4 separate regions of the Homo sapiens genome follow, and all the other regions are linked to region 1. The links are contacts of gene promoters, found by promoter capture Hi-C in human tissues and cell types (Jung and others, 2019). All regions are on one chromosome and are shown on one strand. Each heading gives the region's core, a stretch centred on a gene start or on the middle of the fragment in contact. The rest is flanking DNA. Distances are from core to core; before and after follow the strand shown.

Region 1 (5,469 bases), core at 1,833-4,332:
GGTCTGGCTGAGTCAGGGGCTTTTTATGGGTCTCACAGGGGAGGAGGTACATGCCTATTGGTCCATGGGCAGCCATGGGTGGGCCGGAAAAAGCACCAAAAGTTCCCATTCCGGTCCATGGAACCGGCAGCCCAGCCCCCAGGCTTCAGGCCTTCCCTGGCTTGAAGGTCGGGCTTCACCGGGACCCGCCACCTTCCACCCAGGAACCTGTCTGCCTCTTGCCACCATTCACGGCACCCAAGCTGTTTGTGCCAAGGGGGTGCCTGCAGGCCAGCACTGAGCTGCCCTCAGCCCCTCTTGGCCTCCCTCCCATGCTCGTTGGCACCCAAAGGCCAGAGGGGGCCAAGGAGGCAGGGGGCTGGTGTGTCAGCACTGCAATAGCACCCAGGCTCGGCCTCAACTTTGCTCCATGATCTGATCAGGTGCTGACAGTGGGGAGAAGCCAGACAGCAGGATCAGGCACTTCCAAGCCTGCGGCAGCAGGAAGGGGCCTTCCTGGGTCCCCAAAAGTGCAGACATGCCTGGGTCCACAGCTGCAGCTTGGGAGGCTGCAGCTGCATCTAGGAGGGTGGGGCTCCTGCCTGCTCCTAGCTCCCAAGAGCACAGGGGTGCCTGAGTTGCAGTCCTGGCTTGGGTGGCTGTAATTGCGCCTAGGGAGCTCCCACTCCACCAACTTGGAAGGGGTGGGGCTCCCACTTGTCCCCAGTTCCCGCCAGCTCTGTGGAACATGTGGCCCCAGCTGCCTCTCCTCTTCACGTTTTCCCCACAGCGGCGGCGGGCAAGGTGCATATGGCATGGCAGCTCTGACCACCCCAAACAAATGAGCCTAGTAGTCCTGTGTTCCGGAAACAGTGAAGAAGCCAGTTTGCAGGAGCAGGGTCTTTGTGCACATGTGTGAGTATTTTTGTACTCACAAGTGCAAGTCCCTACAAGTCCCAGTTGCACCTTTGGCAGGGTGCTCGCAGGCTTCTGGGATGTGGCAGGGAGCGAGGTTCAGGCTGCAGCAGAGGGTCTGGGCTGAGGAGCAGGTCCTGCCCAGCCATGTGAGGGTGGGGGTGGTGCAGTCGGCTGCCTCGGGGATGCAGGGAACAGGGGACTCACTACCACCACTGCTGCTCCCAGAGCCACTTCTGCTGCCCGACTTGTGCCTCCCCACTGCAGCCAGCATGATGACAGCATCTGCTTCCAACTGCCCGCCACTGTCATCAAAACTGCTGGACTCAAACAATCCTCTTGCCTCAGGAGGTGGGACTACAGGCACATGCCACCACACGATGGTGTCTCACTATGTTGCCCACGCTGGTCTTGAACTCCTGGCCTCAAGAGATGCCTCCCACCTTGGTCTCCTGAAGTGCTAGGATTACAGGCGTGAGTACTGCACACAGCCTGGGATTCTGAAAATACATGGAAACTGCCATTTTTTCACCCTTTGGACTTCTGCAATTAGGGATTTGTTTTACTTGCTCACCATTTCCTTTAGAGAATGGCTGCTTTCCTCTCCTGGGGCTTCCAAGTGAGAAAATTTCAAAAGGGATCCAAACAATTGCTTTGACCCCATAACTCTGCTAAGAATTTAACAAGGCCGGGAGCAGTGGCTTATGTGTTCCATGGCGTTCCAAAACTTTGGAATGCTGAGGTGGAAGGATTGTTTGAGGAATCTGAGACCAGCCTTGTCTCTACTAAAATTCAAAAAAATTAGCCAGGCGTGGTGGCGCATGCCTGTAGTCTCAGCTACTCCCAGGTGCTGAAGCAGGAGGATCTCTTGAACCTGGGAGGTCGAGGTGCAGCGAGCTATGATCGTGCCACTGCACTCCAGCCTGTGTGACAGAGTAAGACCCTGTCTCAAAAAATATAAAGTATTTAACCAACAAACATACTCACACATGCGCAGAAGACGCTGCTCCTGCAGACTGGCTTCTTCACTGTTTCCTAAACACATCAGGCATACTCCCAAAGAGGGCTTTGCCTGCACTTACCTTCTAACCTACTTCTTCTACTCTACAATGTACTCATTCAGTACACCTGTGGTTGATTGTCCACGTTCTCACTTAGAATGTAACAGGACATAGACTGTAAAAGACAGATTTGTTTTGTTCAGTGATGTATCTCAAACACACTGAACAGAGCCTGGCACACAGAGATGCTGAATAAGTATTTGTTAAATCAATCCTCAAAGTATTCGTTGCAGCATTATTGAAAACAACGGATTGGACATGACCTAAATGACTAAGTGAATACAGCACTAGCACACAGACGTGAAAAAGACTGAGGTAGAGGAATGTGAAATGATCTCCAAGATACACGGTGCAGAAGAGTGTGTTTAGCAGGCTACTATTTGTACAAAAAAAGGGTAAAAAGTCGTGTGTGCACGGATATAAACAATCTTTCTGTAAGAATGCAAACTGGGGCTGGGAGGAAACCTTGCTTCATTTACATTGCGTACCACTGTATATTACATACCCATCACATACACATGAGCCTGTGTTGCTGTTCAGTGGTAAGAAATCATTTAAAAATAGAAAAAAGAAGGAAGGAGGGAAGAGAGAAAGAAAGAAAAGGAATAAAAACCAAGCAGGGGAAGAGCCAGGGACCATTTGGTCAGCCTGCAATCCTCCCAAAGTGCGACAAGGGAGTTGAGGTCGGAGGTGGGGCGCGTGGGGGAGGAATCCGACCACCAGCTGTGTGCCTTCGATGAGCTTTCAACAAGGGTAACAGCAAGCTGCTCAAGACTGTAGGAAACACAGGGCTTCGCCGCGACCACGGTCAAGACGGCACCGGGCCTTGGGAACAACGTGAACAGAATCACCCAGGAAGCCGCGGGAGCGCGCGAACACGGGAGAAGGGAAGCAGGTTGCCACAGAAGAGCAACCCGAGCGGGGCCTCAGGGCAGTCGCACACACGAGGTTCCGAGCCCCCGGTGTCAGCGGCATCCCAGGGCCCCTCCCGTGTTCGGAAATCGCCGCAGCCTGTGGGAGAGCCACTCACCCCTTGCAGCGGCCGGGAATTCTCGTAACTCGCTCCGCACGGCTTCCAAAGCCGCCTCCGCCATGGCTGCGTCAGCGCCGGCCGAGACCCCGCCTTTCCCCGACGCCCCGCCGCAGGCCACACCCCAAGCACTCGCCCCGCCCTCCCCAGAGTCCCCGCCGCAGGCCACACCCCCAGACCCTCGCCCCGCCCTTCCAGAGGCACCCGCCGCAGGCCACACCCCCAGCACCCCGCCCCGTCCTGCCCCTGGACACACACCGGGTTCTGCCACCGAAGCGGTGGAGCGACTGGCAGCGCCCGCTTCGGCCTGCCCCACTGGCCGGCATCCCAGGGTTAACAAACAATTGTGTTTATTGACAAGTTCATACATCAGTACAAACGGGCACGTTAAAAACAGCGCCCCCGCCCCATGCAGCCGAGGATGAGGCAGGAAGCGCCGCGACCTGCACAAAGTATAAAAGTTATAAATAAGGGGCTTTCAAAACAAGGCGGGGGCAAATCTGGAGTGGGGCGGCGGTTGCCGGTGGCCTCAGACATGCAGAAGGGGACGGGGCGCCGGCCGGGCCACGAGGCCCCCCACCCACATGGGGCAGAGGGCAGGAAAAGGGCGGCCACATTCTCACAAACTTCTGGCGAAGGGTAGCTCCCTCCTCGTGAAGGACCTGGCCCAGAGGGCGAACCTGAGTCCCACCTGCGGTGGGCGCGGCTGGTGTGGGAAGTCGGGGCACAGCAGGCACGGGCCCGCCCCCGCCGCCGCGGGAGTTCCAGGGCCATGCGGGTGGCGATGCTAGAGGAGTGGGGAAGGGCCAGGTTTGGAGCAGCTCAAGCGCACTCAGGCTGATGCCCCGGAGCTGGGAACCTTTTGTAACCCTTTTTCTTTTTTTTTTTTGAGATGGCGTGTAGCTTTGTCACCTAGGTTGGAGTGCAATGGCGCGATCTCGGCTCACTGCAACCTCCACCTCCACCTCCAGGGTTCAAGCGATTCTCCTGCCTAAACCTCCCGAGTAGCTGGGATTACAGGCGCCCACCACCACGCCCAGCTAATTTTTTTATTTTTAGTAGACAGGGTTTCACCATGTTGGCCAGGCTGATCTCGAACTCCTAACCTCAGGTGATCCACCCGCCTCGGCCTCCCAAAGTGCTGGGATTACAGGCTTGAGCCACCACACCTGGCCCAGAACCCATTTCTTTATAAGCCTCTGCCTATGGCGCAGCAGGGCGGGTGAAGGGGCTCTCGTGGCCTGAAGCTGTGGTAAAGCTGCTCTGACTTACCTGCAGCAGAGGGGAGCAGTAGGGCCCAGAAAAACCTTTCCTCAACTCTTCAACTGCCTCACGACATGGTCCCACTCTACCTCCTAGGGTCCCCTATCTCCTTTCCCTCACCCCTAATTACTGCCCTTTTACATTCTAACTTATCCCCTCACCTCTGCCACTTACCTGTCCCATCTACCACTTTTCTAGTGTCTCCTTTGGCCCCAGCACCTCCCTCCTCTCAAACTCCAGTATCCAGCACACCCGTGGGTGCCCAGCACTGCCTTTGAGGAGGCTCCTTCTACCTAAACCAGGTGTCCTATGGGCTATCTCGTATCAGCTAGGCTGTGGACACCAAGAATCCAGAATCTGGGTTCACTTAGTGTACTGCACCCCTTTTCTGCTCCCTGATAGGTGTTCCACATAAGCCAGGGTGGTGAAGCTGAGGCAGGATGTGAGGAAACCAGGCACACAGCAGCCAGCCAGATACTCTAGCAACCAACACTCAACAGCGTGCTGTGCAGGTAGGTGTGTGTGTGTACATGTGTGCACGTGCATGCGTGTGATCTCATCTGTGGCTGAGGTCCTCAGGAGGTAGGCCAGCGCCCCGTAAACGAGGGATGTTCCAACACAGGCTTCTGACTAAGCATCATTCAGGATGCAGGGAGAAGGTGGCCTCTGGGCTCCAGCAGCCGGCTGGGGTCCAGGGTGGAGGACAGGGAAGAACAAGGGGCTGAGGAAAGGAGGCCAGAGCTTCATGTTTGCCCAGGTGAGGGCTTACTGTCCTGCAGCAACATCCCACAGCTGGCTCAAGTTCTGGCCAGGAGAGTAAGGGGTCACAGGGAAATACAATGCTGGGCCCCTCTTGGAGGGAGAATGGGAGTGGAATGTGCGGGCTCAGGTCCAAATACCAACTCAAGTCTCCTGATGGCTGGGGACACCCTGGAGGGCCAGATGGCTCTGCCTTTCTGAGCTCCAGGTATTGGGGAAAACCACCCTGCTCTGGCAGCCACGGGAGTGCAGCTGGTGTGAGAGGGGAAGTGCAGGTAGAGGTGAAGGCCCACAGTTGGCTGACGGGCACTGAATACCACATCACCTCTCACCTCGACCCCAGAGTACCCTGTGTATGCTCCACCACAGGGAGCTAATCCCTGCAGTAATTTCAAATGGCTTCTAAGAGAGGGCCAGCCCTTCCCAGATTCCTAGATGGGGCAGGCTGCCCTCCTACCTCTC
Region 2 (5,977 bases), core at 3,020-5,519, 430 kb after region 1:
CCTGTCTCTACCAAAAAAAAAAAATCAGCTGGGTGTGGTGGCATGCACCTGTAGTCTCAGCTACTTAGGAGGGCAAGACAGGAGAATCGCTTGAACCCGGGAGGTGGAGGTTGCAGTGAGCTGAGATCACGCCACTGCACTCCAGCTTGGGCATCAGAGTGAGATTCGGTCTCAAACAAACAAACAAAAAAATACCCTCCTGGCCAGGCGCAGTGACTCATGCCTGTAATACCAGCACTTTGGGAGGCCAAGGTGGGTGGATCACTTGAAGTCAGGTGTTGGAGACCAGCCTGGCCAACATGGCGAAACCCTGTCTCTACTAAAACAACAAAACTTAGCTGGGCGTGGTGGCGCACCCCTGTAGTCCCAGCTACTCAGGAGGCTGAGGCAGGAGAATCGCTTGAACCTGGGAGGCAGAGGTTGCAGTGAGCCAAGATTGGGCTGCTGCACCTTGGCCTGGGTGACAGAGCAAGACTCCGTCTCCAAACAACAAAAACAGGCCGGGCGCGGTGGCTCACGCTTGTGATCCCAGCACTTTGGGAGGCTGAGGCGGGTGGATCACCTGAGGTCAGGAGTTGCAGACTAGCCTGACCAATATTATGAAACCTCGTCTCTACTAAAAATACAAAAATTAGGCAGGCATGGTGGCATGCACCTATAATCCCAGCTACTCGGGAGGCTCAGACAGGAGATTCGCTTGAACCCGAGAGGTGGAGGTTGCAGTGAACTGAGATTGCGCCATTGCACTCCAGCCTAGACAACACGAGGAAAACTCCATCTCAAAACAAGCAAACACACAAACAAAAAATGATCCTGCTACCTTCTAAGGTTGGCCAGGGCTGAACAACACTTCTGCCTCTTTTGTCACTGCCTGCAATATAGGGGACTACAGGGCTTCACCCATTCATATTCGGATTCAGAACAGCTTCAATGTCCTCTGGTCCCAGGCTTCTGAATGATGCTCTTACTGTTCATTTCCTTTTAGGCAGGGGCTTCTCTTTGTAGTTGCCTGCTCTTAGTTTCCCTCACTTTGTTCCCTTTGTCATATTATCATTTATGGCATTTGTCAGCCTTATGTCCACAAATAGATAGATGGTCCCCTGTTGTCTCCATGTCTAATTTGGATGGGTTTCAGTTGTTGTTGTTGTTGTTGTTTTCTTTTTTGAGGCAGAGTTTCACTCTTGTCGCCCAGGCTGGAGTGCAATGGCAAGATCTCAGCTTACTGCAACCTCTGCCTCCCAGGTTCAAGCCATTCTCCTGCCTCAGCCTCCCGAGTAGCTGGGATTACGGGTGCTCGCCACCACCCCTGGCTAATTTTTGTATTTTTAGTAGAGACAGGGTTTTACCATGTTGGCCAGGCTGGTCTCGAACTCCTGATCTCAGGTGATTCACCCGACTAGGCCTCCCAAAGTGCTGGCATTACAGGTGTGAGCTACCCTGCCTGGCTGGGTTTCAGTTTTGTTGTGAACAAAGGTATAGTTAAGATTTGGTGGAGCCCACTACCACTGTCTGGGAGGCCAAGGAAGAAGGTGCTACAGACATGGTTGGGTTAACCTACATAATCATTTCCCCTCAGCTCTTTGCCTTTATTTCCTTCCTTTATTTCCTATATTTCCTTCCCCTAGTGACTCTACCTTTTCTTCTGCCTGGCATTGTCATGTCCTTCCTTTCTATTTGAATATTTTTTTCTTTCTTCCAGCCTTCCTTTCTCCACTGGTAATAAATACATATGGGGCTTCCTATACTTAAGCAAACAGCCTGGCACAGTGGCTCACGCCTGTAATCCCAGCACCTTGGATGGCCGAGGTGGGTGGATCAACTGAGGTCAGGAGTTGGAGACCAGCCTGGCCAACATGACGAAACCCTGACTCTGCTAAAAATACAATAATCAGCTGGGTGTGGTGGCATGCACCTCTAATCCCAGCTACTCAGGAGGCTGAGGCAGGAGAATCACTTGAACCCGGGAGGCGGGGGTTGCAGTGAGCCGAGATCACGCCACTGCACTCCAGCCTGGGTGAGGAAGACTGTGGTTCAAAAAAAAAAAAGCAGCAAACAACTAATGATTAGAGACATGCAAATCAAAACCAAAATGAGATACCACTTCACACTCATTAGGATGGCTACTATATTTTAAAAACCAAAAAAACAAGAAACGTGTCAGTGGGCTTGGAAAGAAGGTGTGAAAAGATCAAAGATCAAAAACAGCAAGAGAATGCAACAGGATTTAAAATCAGTAAGAGAAGATTTTAAGGAGAGGAGCCAAGGACAGTCAAGCATTTCCATCCTAGAAGGATGTGGCCATTTACAGAAATAGGGAGACAGGAGGAATTAGTAGGAGGAAAAATGACACATTTAGTTTTAGACATTTAGTTTTCTTTATTGCTCAAGGATATTTCCTAAAAAACAACAACAAAAAGACATTTCGATTTTTTCTTTTTCTGAGACGGAGTCTGGCTCTGTGGCCCAGGCTGGAGTGCAGTGGTGCGATCTCGGCTCACTGCAAGCTCCGTCTCCCGGGTTCACGCCATTCTCCTGCCTCAGTCTCCTGAGTAGCTGGGACTACAGGCGCCCGCCAGCACGCCCGGCCAATTTTTTTGTATTTTTAGTAGAGACGGGGTTTCACCGTGTTAGCCAGGATGGTCTCGATCTCCTGACCTTGTGATCCGCCCGCCTCGGCCTCCCAAAGTGCTGGGATTACAGGCGTGAACCACCGCGCCCGGCCGATAACTTATATTTGAAACTAGAAAAGAGGTAGAGGCAGGATGGGCCATGGAGAGACAGCCCGCATTAAAGGTTGTGGGAAGAGAATAGAAGAGTCAGTGATGGGGGCAGAAAGGTAAGGTTTGAGGGGGCAAGTGTAGAGTCTAGAGAAGCCAAGCCGAATTTGAGGAAGAGGAGGCGGCGCGGAAACTAGTGAAGGAGAAAACATGGAAAGGGCTAGTGTATTTAGTGAGCTCCTTCGGAACCTTAGAGAACAAAGGTGTTACGGAACTATATGCTCTCAAATTCACACTAAGCACTAAATTCCCGCCGCTATGGTACATTCTGGGGAAAGGAAAAACAGCGCAGTCTGGACCCAAGAAAGCTCACAGCGTGGCAAAGGAAGTGAGAAGTGAGTGAAAGATACAATGTTGATTCTGTCTTCCCTGGCAGTAAGAAAAAAAAACAAAAACAAACAATGTTTAAGTGCTTTGGCCGGGCATGGTGGCTCACGCCTGTAATACCAGCACTTTGGGAGGCCGAGGTGGGTGGATCATGAGGTCAGGATTTCGAGACCAGCCTGGCCAACATGGCGAAACCCCATCTCTACTAAAAATACAAAAATTATCCGGGTGTGGTGGCACACACCTGTAATCCCAGCTACTTGGGAGGCTGAGGCAGGAGAATTGCTCCAACCCAGGAGTCGGAGGTTGCAGATCGCGCCACTGCACTACAGCCTGGGCAACAGAGTGAGACTCCGTCTCAAAAAAAAAAAGTGCTTTAAGAGAGGTGTGCACAAGGTACAAACAGATGCCCTGAGCAACTGGCGACCGTGTGGGGCGAGACTCGGGAAGGGCTGGTAGGAGGGGCTGCTGTCCAGGTGCGTGGTGGTCCTCAAGAATTCATGGGGGCAATTCCAGCAGAATCGGCCTTTTGAGGCCTCAGGCAGTTCTTGTGGGGACCGAGGCGACAGATAAGGAAGGAAGGGATACAGGCGCGTTAGCAATAACTGGGTTCTATTTGAAAGACGCAGGGGGCCGGGCTTGGTGGCTCGCGCCTGTAATCTCAGCACTTTGGGAGGCCGAGGCGGGTGGATCACGAGGTCAGGAGATCGAGATCATCCCGGCTAACATGGTGAAACCCCGTCTCTACTAAAAATACAAAAATTAGTCGGGCATGATGGCGCGCACCTGTAATCCCAGCTACTCGGGAGGCTGAGGCAGGAGAATCGCTTGAATCTGGGAGGCAGAGGTTGTAGTGAGCCGAGATCGCGCCACTGCACTCCAGCCTGGGCGACAGAGCGAGAATCCGTCTCAAAAAAAAAAAAAAAAAAAAAGACGCAGGGATGGAGTTTGCCGCCTGAAAGGATACAGGAAGGAGAGGCGAAAAACTTATCTGAATTCTCACTGCTTCCTTACAACTGGCGACCAAGTGGACCAAAAACCTCCAAAAACCTCAGTTGGCTGGGCTACGGGGTCCTTGCTGTCCTTCCTGGGCTTCTGTACTCGGCCGGAACTTTGGTGTTCTGACGCCTTGTTTGGCATCGGAAGGGAAAAGCAGATGGACCTATACGGGTAAAGTGGCTTCTGGGCGGAAGGTACACTATAGGCTCGGGGAGGTAAGCGGCGGCAGGCCGGCGGTTGGTGTGTCCCGGGTGTGGGGAGGCGACAGAGCCCTGGCACTTGAGGGTTGAGGGGGCCTCCCCAGCGCGGCGAACCGTCTAGCCTCCGGAGGCCAGGCCGTGAGTGCGGGAGGTATACGCCAAGGCGGAAGAATTTTGCCACTCACTACCTGTGTGACCTCGGGTAAATTAGCCTTGGAACGTCAGTTTCTTCGTCTCTATAATTGAAATAATAATAGTACCTCTCTCAGGATTGTTGTGAGCCGTCAGTGAAACACTTAGAGCAGTTTCTGGCACATGGTAAGGCATGGATAGCTTTACTAATTCTACTCACTTCTAGCTGCGTGGATTGTGTTGTCAAAACCCACCGTCAACCTCAGGGCGGTATTGTCCAGTTAATAGTTTAGATTTTCTGTTTACTGGTAGAAAAAAAAAAATGAAACAAAGCATTTATAATTAAAGTTATATTATTAGAGAAGTAACACTACGGAGGGTTTGGAAAACATTTTATGAGCTATCATTTGTTTCTCAAATTTCGGTATGTGTAGAGGTAAAATCATTTAAGTGCAACCGGCGCGGGGGAATTTAAATATTATCCATAATTCCGGGACCTCAGATCAACTGTTAATTTTTCCTGGTTCCCTTAACGTTTATAATACATGTGAAAACATACTGTTTACATGGTTTTGATTTATCAACAAACCTTATTGATAATGTCGGCTGGGCGCGGTGGCTCACGCCTGTAATCCCAGCACTTTGGGAGGCCGAGGCGGGCGGATCACTTGAGGTCAGGAGTTCGAGACCAGCCTGGCCAACATGGTGAAACCCTGTCTCTACTAAAAATACAAAAATTAGCTGGGCGTGGTGGCGCACGCCTGTAATCCCAGTGACTGAGGCAAGAGAATTGCTTGAAACCAGGAGGTGGAGGTTACAATGAGCCGAGATCGCACAACTGCACTCCAACTTGGGGGACAGAGCTGGACTCTGTCTTAAAAAAAAAAAAAAAAAAGTTGGGCATGGTGGCGGGCACCTGTAATTTCAGCCACTCGGGAGGCAGAGGCAGGAGAAGCACTTGAACCCGGGAGGCGGAGGTTGCAGTGAGCCAGGGTCGTGCCATTGCACTCCAGCCTGGGTGACAGAGCGAGACTCCATCTCAAAAAAAAAAAAAAAAAAAAAGGTTGGGCGCCGTGGCTGACGCCTGTAATCCCAGTACTTTAGGAGGCCCATGTAGGCGGATCACCTGAGGTCAGGAGTTCGAGACCACTCTGGCCAACATAGTGGAACCTCATCTCTACTGAAAAAACAAAAACAAAAACAAAAATTAGCCGGGCATGGTGGCGCCCGCCTGTAATCCCAGCTATTCAGGAGGCTGAGACAAGAGAATCGCTTGAACCCAGGAGGCGGAGATTGCAGTGAGCGGAGATCTCTAGCCTGGTGACAGAGCAAGACTCCGTCTCAAAAAAAAAAAAAAGTATTGATAATGTCATTTTACCTATTGGTGTCTGTATCCTACAGAAAGGAAATACGTATCTGACTTGTTTCATAGGATTTGTGTGTGGATGGCATGAGATAATATATATCAGGGTGATATGAAAGTGTTAGGAGTAGGCTGGGCATGGTGGCTCACACCTGTAATCACAGTACTTTGGGAGAACA
Region 3 (5,331 bases), core at 2,790-5,289, 400 kb after region 1:
TTTAAATCCGAGAAGTTACTTCCTAGTGTCCCTTTCATAGCAAAACTGTTGGTTGATTTAAACAGTGAATATTGGCTGGGCGTGGTGGCTCACAGGTGGCTTACAGGTGGCCTGTAATCCCAGTACTTTGGGAGGCCAAGGTAGGAGGAAGGATCCCTTGAGCCCAGGAATTTGAGACCAGCATGGGCAACACAGGGAGACCCTGTCTCTACAAAAAATTAAAAATCAATTCGCTGTGGCCAGGAGTGGTGGCTCACGCCTGTAATCCCAGCACTTTGGGAGGCCAAGATGGGCAGATTACTTGAGGTCAGGAGTTTGAGACCAGCCTGGCCAACATGACGAAACCCCGTCTCTACTAAAAATACAAAAAGTAGGCAGATGTGGTGGCATATGCTTGTAATCCCAGCTACACAGGAGGCTGTGGGAGAACTGGTTGGGCCCAGGAGGCAGAGAGGTTGCAGTGAGCTGAGATCACACCACTGCACTCCAGCCTGGGCAACAGAGCAAGACTCTGTCTCAAAATAAATAAATAAATTAGCTGGGCATGGTGGCACACACCTGTGATCCCAGCTACTCCAGAGGCAGAGGAGGGAGGATCACTTGAAGCCAGGAGGTCAAAGCTAGAGTGATCCATGACCACGTCACTGCACTTCAGCTTGGGTAACAGAGTGAGACCCTGTCTTCAAAAAAAAAAAAAGGAGTAGGGGGCCGGACACGGTAGCTCACACTTGTAATCCCAGCACTTTGGGAGGCTGAGGTGGGCGGATCACAAGGTCAGGAGATCGAGACCATCCTGGCTAACACAGTGAAACCCCGTCTCTACTAAAAATACAAAAAAATTAGCCGGGTGTAGTGGCGGGCACCTGTAGTCCCAGCTACTCGGGAGGCTGAGGCGGGAGAATGGTGTGAACCCAGGAGGCAGAGCTTGCAGTGAGCTGAGATCACGTCATTGCACTCCAGCCTGGGCAACAAAGCGAGACTCCATCTCAAAAAAAAAAAAAAAAAAAAAAAAAAAAGGGATATCAGTATTGCAGTAGAGGGGTTGGAACAAGAACCCCCAAAGTGACAGTGTCCTTTATCTCTTCAAGTAATCTCAATGTAACCAAGTTAGAAAATGTCCCACCATGTAGCTTGGGTGACACAGTGAGACCCCAGCTCTAAAAATAAAATTAAAAAAAAAAGAAGGCGGCCAGGCATGGTGGCTCATGCCTGTAATCCCAGCACTTTGGGAGGCCAAGCCAGGCAGATCACCTGAGGTCAGGAGATCAAGACCAGCCTAGCCAGCATGGTGAAACCCCGTCTCTACTAAAAATACAAAAATTAGCCAGGTGTGGTGGCGGACACTTGTAATCCCAGCTACTTGGGAAGCTAAGACAGGAGAATCACTTGAACCCGGGAGGCGGAGGTTGCAGTGAGCTGAGATTGCCCCACTGCACTCCAGCCTGGGCAACAAAGAGCAAAACTCCATTTCAAAAAAAAATAAAACTTGACACCATAGGTATGCCAAGTAGCATCTGCTTATTCAACAAAAATTTATTAAGTGCCTACTCTGTCAGGCGAGCATCGGCATAATTATTATTACTGTTATTATTATTTGAGTCAGGGTCTCACTGTCACCCAGGCTGGAGTGCAGTTGTGTGATCATGGCTCTCTGCAGCCTCAACCTCCTAAGCTCAGGTGATCCTCCTATCTCAGCCTCCTGGGTAGCTGGGACTACAGGCACACACCACTACACCCAGCTTATGTAGCTTTTATTTTGAATGAATAGCTGGGACCACAGGCGCATGCCACCACACTCAGCTAATTTTTTAAAAATTTTGTAGGGCCGGGCGCAGTGGCTCACGCCTGTAATCCCAGCACTTTGGGAGGCCAGGGTGGGTGGATCACGAGGTCAGGAGATCCAGACCATCCTGGCTAACACGGTGAAACCCCGTCTCTACTAAAAATACAAAAAATTAGCCGGGCATGGTGGCGGGTGCCTGTAGTCCCAGCTACTCAGGAGGCTGAGGCAGGAGAATGGCGTGAACCCGGGAGGCGGAGCTTGCAGTGAGCCGAGATCGCACCACTGCACTCCGGCCTGGGCAACAGAGCAAGACTCTGTCTCAAAAAAAAAAAAAAAAAAAAAAAATTTGTAGACCAGGCATGGTGGCTCATGCCTGTAGTCCCAGCACTTTGGGAGGCCAAGGTGGGTGGATCACGAGGTCAGGAGTTCAAGACCAGCCTGGCCAACATGGTGAAACCCTATCTCTACTAAAAATACAAAAATTAGCTGGGCGTGGTGGTGGGCCCCTGTAATCCCAGCTGCTTGGCAGGCTGAGGCAGGAGAATTGCTTGAACCTGGGAGGTGGAGGTTGCAGTGAGCCGAGATCACACCATTGCGCTCCAGCCTGGGCAACAGAGTGAGACTCTGCCTAAAAAACAAACAAACAAACAAACAAACAAAAATTACACACACACACACACACACACACACACACACACACACACACACATATATATGTAGCGGCTGGGCACAGTAGACTCACGCCTGTAATCCCAACACTTCAGGAGGCCGGCGGGGGGGGGGGGCGGGGGGGGGGGGGGGCGGGGTGGATCACCTGAGGTCAGGAGTTCGAGACCAGCCTGGCCAACATGGAAAAACCCCATCTCTACTAAAAATACAAAAAAATGGCCAGGCACAGTGGCTCACGCTTGTAATCCTAGCAGTTCGGGAAGCCGAGGTGGGCAGATCATGACGTCTGGAGTTCGAGATCAGCCTGGCCAATATGGTGAAACCCTGTCTCTACTAAAAATACAAAAAATTAGTCAGGCATGGTGGCGCACGCCTGTAGTCCCAGCTACTCGGGAGGCTGAGGCAGAAGAATCGCTTGAATCCAGGAGGGGGAGGTTGCAGTGAGCAGAGATCGTGCCACTGCACTCCACCCTGGGCGACAGAGCGAGACTCTATCCCAAAAAAAAAAATAAAAACAAACAATCAAAAAAATTAGCTGGGCATGGTGGCATGTGCCTGTAATCCCAGCTACTCAGGAGGCTGAGGCACGAGAATCGCTTGAACCCAGGGCGGAGGTTGCAGTGAGCCAAGATGGTGTCACTGCACTCCAGCCTAGGCAACAGAGCGAGACTCCACCTCCAAAAAAAATTTTTTTTTTTTGTAGAGATCAGGTTTCATCATCATGTTGCCTAGGCTGATCTCAAACTCCTGAGCTCAAGCAATCCTCCCACCTCAGCCTCCCAAAGTGCTGGGATTACAGGCATGAGCCATTGTGCCTGGCCCTCAAGTGTTATTTTCAACTACCTACTTGATGTCTCCACTTAGACATCTCATAGTCACTTCGAACTCCACATATCCCAGACTGAATGCAGGATCTTCACCTCTAAACCTGCTCCTCCAGCACTCCCCATCTCATGCCAGTGCCTGGCATCAATCCTAAATACTCCTCTTCTCATCCTAACATCTAATCAGTCCTCAGTCTTCAAGGCCTTTTAGTTCTACATACTGAACATCATGTCCAACCAATTCCACTATCTGTCATCTCTATAACAACCATATCAATCCAAGTCAGTCCTTCATTTAATAAATACTGACTGGGTGCCAACTGCATATAGGCACTGCTCTAGATGCCAGGGACAGCATAGTGAACACATACGGTTACCCTCCTGGCGCTTCCATTCTAATGGAACTTATGTTCTCCATCATCTCTCATCTGGACTCCTCTCTCTGCCACTTCATTAGTGTCCCCCTCCATATTACTCTCCACAATAGTCTGGGTAAGGCAAATCTGAAAATCTTCTCCAACTTAAAATCCTTCAATGGCTTCCTATTACTCTCAGAATAAACTCCAAAGTCTCTACTAAAAATACAAAAATTGGCCAGGCGCGGTGGCTCACACCTGTAATCCCAGCACACTTTGGGAGGCCGAGGCGGGCAGATCATGAGGTCAGGAGATCAAGACCATCCTGGCTAACATGGTGAAACCCGTGCCTACTAAAAATACAAAAAAAAAATTAGCCGGACACAGTGGCAGGCGCCTATAGTCCCAGCTACTCGGGAGGCTGAGGCAGGAGAATGGTATGAACCCGGGAGGCGAAGCTTGCAGTGGCAGAGACAGCGCCACTGCAGTCCGGCCTGGGCAAAAGAGCGAGACTCCGTCTCAAAAATAAAAAACAAAAATTAGCCAAGTGTGGTGGCACACACTTGCAGTCCCAGCCACCGGGGAGGCTGACGCCCTCCAGTGGCTTTAAATTTTTTTCTTTTTTTCTTTTGTTTTTTTTAGACGGAGTCTCTCTGTCACCCAGGCTAATACAGTGGTGATCTCGGCTCACTGCAACCTCCGCCTCCTAGGTTCAAGGGATTCTCATGCCTCAGCCTCACCAGTGGCTGGGACTACAGGTGTGTGCCACCGCACTTGGCTAATTTTTGTATTTTTACTAGAGATGGGGTTTCGCCATGTTGGCCCGCCTGGTCGAACTCCTGGCCTCATATGATCCACCCACCTCGGCCTCCCAAAGTGCTGGGATTAAAGGCGTGAGCCACTGCGCCTGGCCAAAAAACTTTTCTCTTTTTAACGCAGCCCACAGGAAGATAAATTATACCTCACAACCCAGTATACATCTACATGTACATATGAGACACACAAATTTCATCACTTATATTTACTATGTATGACACATTTGATGTTTTCTATCAATTCAATTTTATTTTTACTGCTGAGTGTAGTCCGTAAACTGACTTCTCCATCCTCAAAGGGTCAAAACAGAATCTACCTCTACAGTTTCATTTGTACTATTCTCTCTCCAACTATGCAACTAGTTTATGTTACTCACTCTGTGCTTCTTTCAGTTTCATAAGGGTTCGAGGTCCTTCCTGTCTCATTTCTTTTATATATGCTGGTGCCTCAACCATGAACATTCAACACTCTTCCCTTTACTCTTCAGTCTTCTAATCTGCTTCTCCTTAACACATATTCCAGGTCTGTTTCAATGTCACTCTCATCAGGCTAGAATAGGGTCCCTGGTTAATATTTCCACAGTATTCTTGTCCTTGCTTCATGGCCTGTAGTGCAATTGTAAGGAAATTACTCTCTCTGAGCAATCTCCCCACCTCATCTCTCTCTCATTCCACTTTACACTCCTTGAAGGTGGAAACTGCTTCCATTTTGTTCACCCAATAGCTCTAGTGTCTAACGCTGTCTAATACATCTGTTGAACGATGAACAATCAGGCCGGATGCGGTGGCTCATGCCTGAAATCCCAGCACCCTGGGGAAGCCAAGGAGGGCGGATCACTTGAGGTCAGGAGTTTGAGACCAGCCTGGCCAACATGGTGAAACCC
Region 4 (5,280 bases), core at 798-3,297, 430 kb before region 1:
GAGGATCAGAAAAAATAACTCTTGAGTACTAGGCAGTACCTGGGTGATGAAATAATCTGTAAAACAGTTCCCTGTGAGTTCAGTTTACCTATATAACAAAGTTGCGTATGTATACCGGAACCTAAAATAAAAGTTAAAAAAAAAATATATATATATATATACACACACATATATATAGTTCTGAGTTGAATTTTTCAGACCTTTTCCATTCTGTTTCTATCTCTCAATTTGCATTTTTAAGAAGATTATCCTAGTTCTGTGCTTGCAACAATTTTCTGCTCTATCTTAGCTTATGAGCATGAATATTTTTTTGTTGATGTTGTTAATTTGGTCAAGTAAATCTTTTAAGTATATTTTAATGTGACAAAACCCTCTACACTCTGGCAGTTTCCCAGTCTACTCAGAATTGTTAGTAGAACTATGCCTTGTGAGCCAAAGACTAGAGTCTAATAGTCCTTGAGTCTGATAGTGTTTGATTCTTAGATATTTTTATATAGAGCCTTTATCTGATGCTGTTCATTTTTAAAATAGCAAACTCAAAATTGTATCTGTACTGCAGGTGAACTGTTTGTTGTGCTGTGCTCTTAGTATCTTATTTTTTGGAAGGTGAGTTAACTACTCTGTATTATCTCTTTTTCCAGGCAGAAGAAGTAGAGTTGTATTTGGAAAAACTTAAGGAAAAAAGAGGCTTGTCTGGGAAATATCAAACATCATCAAAATTGTTCCAGAACTGCAGTGAACTCTTTAAAACACAGGTAATCTTTGAAAGTGATTGGAGATAAATAGAATAGGCAAAAATTGGAATGTATATATTTTTGGCTGTATCCACTTCCGACTTCTCAAGTATTTCTTTTGGCAGAAGTAAGTGGAAGCATGTTCTGATAGGTACATAGTCAGCCACTTATACATACTCATCAAAGAGAGGTTGTACTTTGCTTTGTGTGTAAAAAGCAAACCCCCATTTTTTTATTGTGGTAAAATATACACTACATAAAATTTACCATTTTAACCATTTCTAAGTGTATAATACAGTGGCATTAAATATATTCACATTGCTGTGCAGCCATCGACCCATCTCCAGTACTTTTTTTTTCCCCAAGGCAGATTCTTGCTCTGTCCGCCAGGCTGGAGTGCAGTGGCACAATCTCGGCTCACTGCAGTCTCCATCACCCGGATCTAAGCAATTCTTTCACCTCAGCCTCCCAAGTGGCTAGGGCTACAGATTCACACCATTACGCCTGGCTAATTTTTTTTGTATTTTCTGTAGAGACAGGATTTCACCATGTTAGCCAGGCTGGTCTTGAACTCTTGACCTGAAGTGATCCACCCACCTTGGCCTCCCAAAATGCTGGGATTACAGGTGTGAGCCACCGGGCTGAGCCCCATCTCTAGTACTTTTATCATCCCAAACTGAAACATCATACCTATTAAACAAAAATTCCCCACCTTCCAACCCCAAGACCATGGTAACCACTCTTCTACTTTCCATGAATTTGACTATTCTAGATACCTCATATAAATAGAATCATACAACTTTTGTTCTTTTTTGTCTGACTTCTTCCACTTAGCATAATGTTTTTAAGGTTCATCCATGTTATAGCGTTATCAGAATTTCATTCCTTTTTAAGGCTAAGTGATGTTCTATTGTATGTATGTACCACATTTTGTTTTTCCATTCATCTGTTGATGGACATTTAAAACGTCACATTTTTAATTCTTTGGTCTCCTCATCTAATTAATATGTTCCCAGAAAAATCAGGGTTTTTAAAATTTACTTCTATAGATCTGAAATCAGAAGGGTATCATCATTGTCTTAGAGTTCAATTTCACACCTTAATTTTGTAGAAAGAGGGAGATGTGAATAATCATACATTTTTCGTGCTTACACATATGCAATCATGTAAGTGGAGATTCTGATATCAAATTTTGTTGTCTTAGAAATAGTAATCTCAGTTTTTTGATAGAAAAATTTTATATGTGTTGAAAATAGTTATAGTAATTATCATCTATACTTGTCCTTACTATATTTAAAAATTATTTTGGAATATTTAGCAACTTGCCTTGAACTGTCAAATTACTAGAAGTAAAGTTTATTATTAAGAAGACAAATTTAGTCATTGGTAATTGAGGCCAGATGCGGTGGCTCAGGCCTGTAATCCCAGCACTTTGGGAGGCCGAGGTGGGCGGATCACCTGAGGTCAGGAGTTCAAGACCAGCCTGGCCAACATGGTGAAACCCTGTCTCTACAAAAAAATTAGCCGGGCATGGTGGCGGGTACCTGTAATCCCAGCTACTCGGGAGGCTGAAGTGGGAGAATCACTTGAACCCAGGAGGCTGAGATAGTGTCAGTGCACTCCAGCCTGGGCGACAAGAGTGAAACTTGGTCTCAAAAAAAAAAAAAAAAAAGGGATAATTGATGAGCAGATGAATTAATTGGTAATTGAAGGAAGAGTTCCGCTTTTATTATAACTTAGATTTTATGGTCTTGGAGGGAAAAGAAAATAGCTTTAAGATGGTGAAAGAATGGTAGAGAAAGCTAGAAGCAATGTGATGTTGTGTAGTTTGTATGTTTTCTGTTGGTTTTCCAAATTTATCCCTTAGACTAGGAGGATTGGTTGGTCTTTTCTTGGATTTGATTATGGAAAGCTACCTGATGCATCTGGTTGCTGGAGGCTGACTACTTTTAGATGTGCTGTAATCTTTCCAGGGTCTTGGCTTATTGGTAAGGTTTCCTCTCCTCCTCCAGTCTAATGTAACAGGGTTGAATTACACAGTCTCATTACTCAGGAAGGACAATGCCTCATCTACTGATAACTGGTAAGAAAGATAATTAGTGTAGTTTTTTACAGGCATAAAAAATGTAGTATGGTGGAAGGGACAGCAGACCTAAGCATCAAGAATATTAGGTTTAGGCCGGGCGCGGTGGCTCACGCCTGTAGTCCCAGCACTTCGGGAGGCCGATGTGGGCGGATCATGAGGTCAGGAGATTGAGACCATCCTGGCTAACACGGTGAAACCCTGTCTCTACTAAAAATACAAAAAAATTAGCCAGGCATGGTGGCGGGCACCTGTAGTCCCAGCTATTCGGGAGGCTGAGGCAGGAGAATGGCATGAACCTGGGAGGCGGAGCTTGCAGTGAGCCGAGATAACACCACTGCACTCCAGTCTGTGCAACAGAGCAAGACTCCGTCTCAAAAAAAAAAAAAAGAATATTAGGTTTAAATCCTATTTCTTTGTCTAAAGCTTTGTAGTTTTGAGCCACATTTTACTCATCTGTAGAATGAGGGGAAATGATCTAAGCTTCTTCTATCCTAAGCATACATCCTATATCTAAAGCTTTGTCATTCTTAAATGTTTATTATTCTGATAGAAAAATTGAATGGCCATTTTGGTTTGATACTATTTTCTAGTTCCCAGCAGGGTTTTATTCACTTGTTTGTGGTTAATTGGAAATGTTTTGTCTACTGATGCTGTGTTATTATATTTACTAGTTAGGGTGTGGTGTTTTGTTCTAACCATTTCTTTGTATTTTGAGCTACACTTTTCTTCTAGTATTTACACACCTTTAATGTTTTGTTTTGTGTTTCTTTTATAGACCTTTTCTGGAGATTTTATGCATCGACTGCCTCTTTTAGGAGAAAAACAGGAGGTAATTGTTTTCATTATATATTTCTGAGAGTGCAGTAAAAACTTTGGTGGTGCAGGAGATACCCGTGCTCACTGCATCTCTAAGGAGGGAGTGCTGCACCTGGGGAGCAGGCTTCCCCAGTGGCTACAGGAACTTGGGCAGCTAAAAACAAGAAGTTCTGAATTAATTATTATTATTTTTTTAATGTTTAAAGGCTAAGGAGAATGGAACAAACCTTACCTTTATTGGAGACAAAACCGTAAGTATATTTGGGGATTTGGGGCATTGAACACATATTTTAGTTTTCTTAAATTTGTGTATTTCTGAATTGTTCTCCCATACTATGCTAATATTTGAAAAGAAAGTTAAATCTGGAAGCTATAGACCAAAATGTTAAAAATGGTTGGATCTCTGGATGATAGTATGAGTGATTTTTAGTTTCTTTGTGTTTTCTGAATTTTCTACTGTACACATGTATTGCTTTTATAATTATCCCCCCATAAATATCTGTAAACAGGAAGAAACTTATTAAAAATAAGAACTCTTAAACTTCATCTAAAATTATCTGTGATAAAATATAATTGAAAGAGAGTTTGGAAAAATTGAAATAAGGTCTAAAGCTATAAATATGCCTTAAGTTTTCATAAATATGCATTGTATGGATACTATTTTCAAATTCATAATTAATTCCTCAAAACATCACCAGTTAAAAATTTAGAGGAAGGATGACAGCTATCAATGTTGGGTTATGGTTTTTACAAAGCTGATTAAAGTTTTTAATTTTATAACAACTTTATGAAGGTATAATATACATATTACAGAAGTTATGTTTTGTTTCGTTTTTTGAGACAAGGTCTCACTCTTGCCCATGCTGGAGAACAGTGGTATGAAGATGGCTCCCTGCAGCCTTGACGTCTTGGGCTCAAGTGATCCTCCTGCCTCAGACTCCAAGTAACTGGGGCCACAGGCACATACCACCATGCCTGGTTAATTTTAAAAAATTTTTTGTGGGGGTTGGGTCTCACCATGTTGCCCAGGCTGGTATAGAACTCCTAGGCTCAAGTAATAGTCTCACTTCAGCCTCCCAAAGTGCTAGGATTATAGGCGTGAGCCACTGCACCTAGCCTAAAAGTTGTTATTAAAGTTATTAAAGCATATAATTGAGTGGTTTTTAGTATTCTCAAGTTGTGCAAGCACCAATCGCTAATTCCAGAATTGTTCATCCCCAAAAGTAGCCCCATACTCATCAGTCACTCCGCATTTCTCCTGCCCCCAGCCTCTGACAATCAGTAATCTATTTTCTTTCTCTGTACTTGCCTTTTCTGGACATTTTGTGTAACTGGAATCATATAATACATGGACTTGTGTCTGGCTTCTTTCACAGTTTACACTCTGTCTCAACTTTTACTTCCTGCTTGCACAGAACCTTAAGATCAGCCAGTGAATGATTAGGGCCTCCTCAGGTCTCTCCTGGACCTGTGCACAGCCCTGGGCATGTGTGCACAGCCCTGCACATATGGCCTTCTAGATTTCCAGGAATATTTTGGAGCTTTCCAAAATTCCTATGGACATCTCATTCTCCAATTTTTCCTTTTAAGTTTCCAATCAGCCTCTTAATAGCCTCAGTTGGTAAGGTCACCTCAGGCAGCTGT

Evidence for each region. Contacts are between HindIII fragments. The study calls those that stand out against the background at their distance.
Region 2: a contact is called between the fragment with the promoter of NDUFAF1 here and the fragment with the promoter of JMJD7 in region 1, in 1 of the 25 tissues and cell types used here (hippocampus).
Region 3: a contact is called between a fragment that was not itself captured here and the fragment with the promoter of JMJD7 in region 1, in 1 of the 25 tissues and cell types used here (dorsolateral prefrontal cortex).
Region 4: a fragment that was not itself captured here is called in contact with the fragment with the promoter of JMJD7 in region 1 in 1 of the 25 tissues and cell types used here (aorta).

Annotation. Positions count from the first base shown.
Region 1 is chr15:41,825,705-41,831,173 of GRCh38, reverse strand. JMJD7 (jumonji domain containing 7) reads right to left here and starts at 3,082. Exons shown (of 8, transcript NM_001114632.2): 1 at 2,986-3,082. The coding sequence starts at 3,049. MAPKBP1 (mitogen-activated protein kinase binding protein 1) reads right to left here. Exons shown (of 31, transcript NM_014994.3): 31 at 3,319-5,469. JMJD7-PLA2G4B (JMJD7-PLA2G4B readthrough) reads right to left here and starts at 3,082. Exons shown (of 25, transcript NM_005090.4): 1 at 2,986-3,082. The coding sequence starts at 3,049. RefSeq lists a silencer at 3,105-3,194 and enhancers at 2,929-3,223, 3,255-3,484, 4,530-5,412. The HindIII fragment of the contact is 30,158 bases long and covers 1-5,469 here.
Region 2 is chr15:41,400,788-41,406,764 of GRCh38, reverse strand. It overlaps NDUFAF1 (NADH:ubiquinone oxidoreductase complex assembly factor 1), which reads left to right and starts at 4,269. Exons shown (of 5, transcript NM_016013.4): 1 at 4,269-4,621. The HindIII fragment of the contact is 27,298 bases long and covers 1-5,977 here.
Region 3 is chr15:41,423,943-41,429,273 of GRCh38, reverse strand. All of the region lies in intron 1 of RTF1 (RTF1 homolog, Paf1/RNA polymerase II complex component), which reads right to left. Among named protein-coding and RNA genes, the nearest start is that of RTF1, 9.5 kb to the right of the region's middle. The HindIII fragment of the contact is 8,350 bases long and covers 1-5,331 here.
Region 4 is chr15:42,259,565-42,264,844 of GRCh38, reverse strand. TMEM87A (transmembrane protein 87A) reads left to right here. Exons shown (of 20, transcript NM_015497.5): 4 at 642-755; 5 at 3,596-3,649; 6 at 3,843-3,887. Among named protein-coding and RNA genes, the nearest start is that of GANC, 11 kb to the left of the region's middle. The HindIII fragment of the contact is 5,078 bases long and covers 1-4,586 here.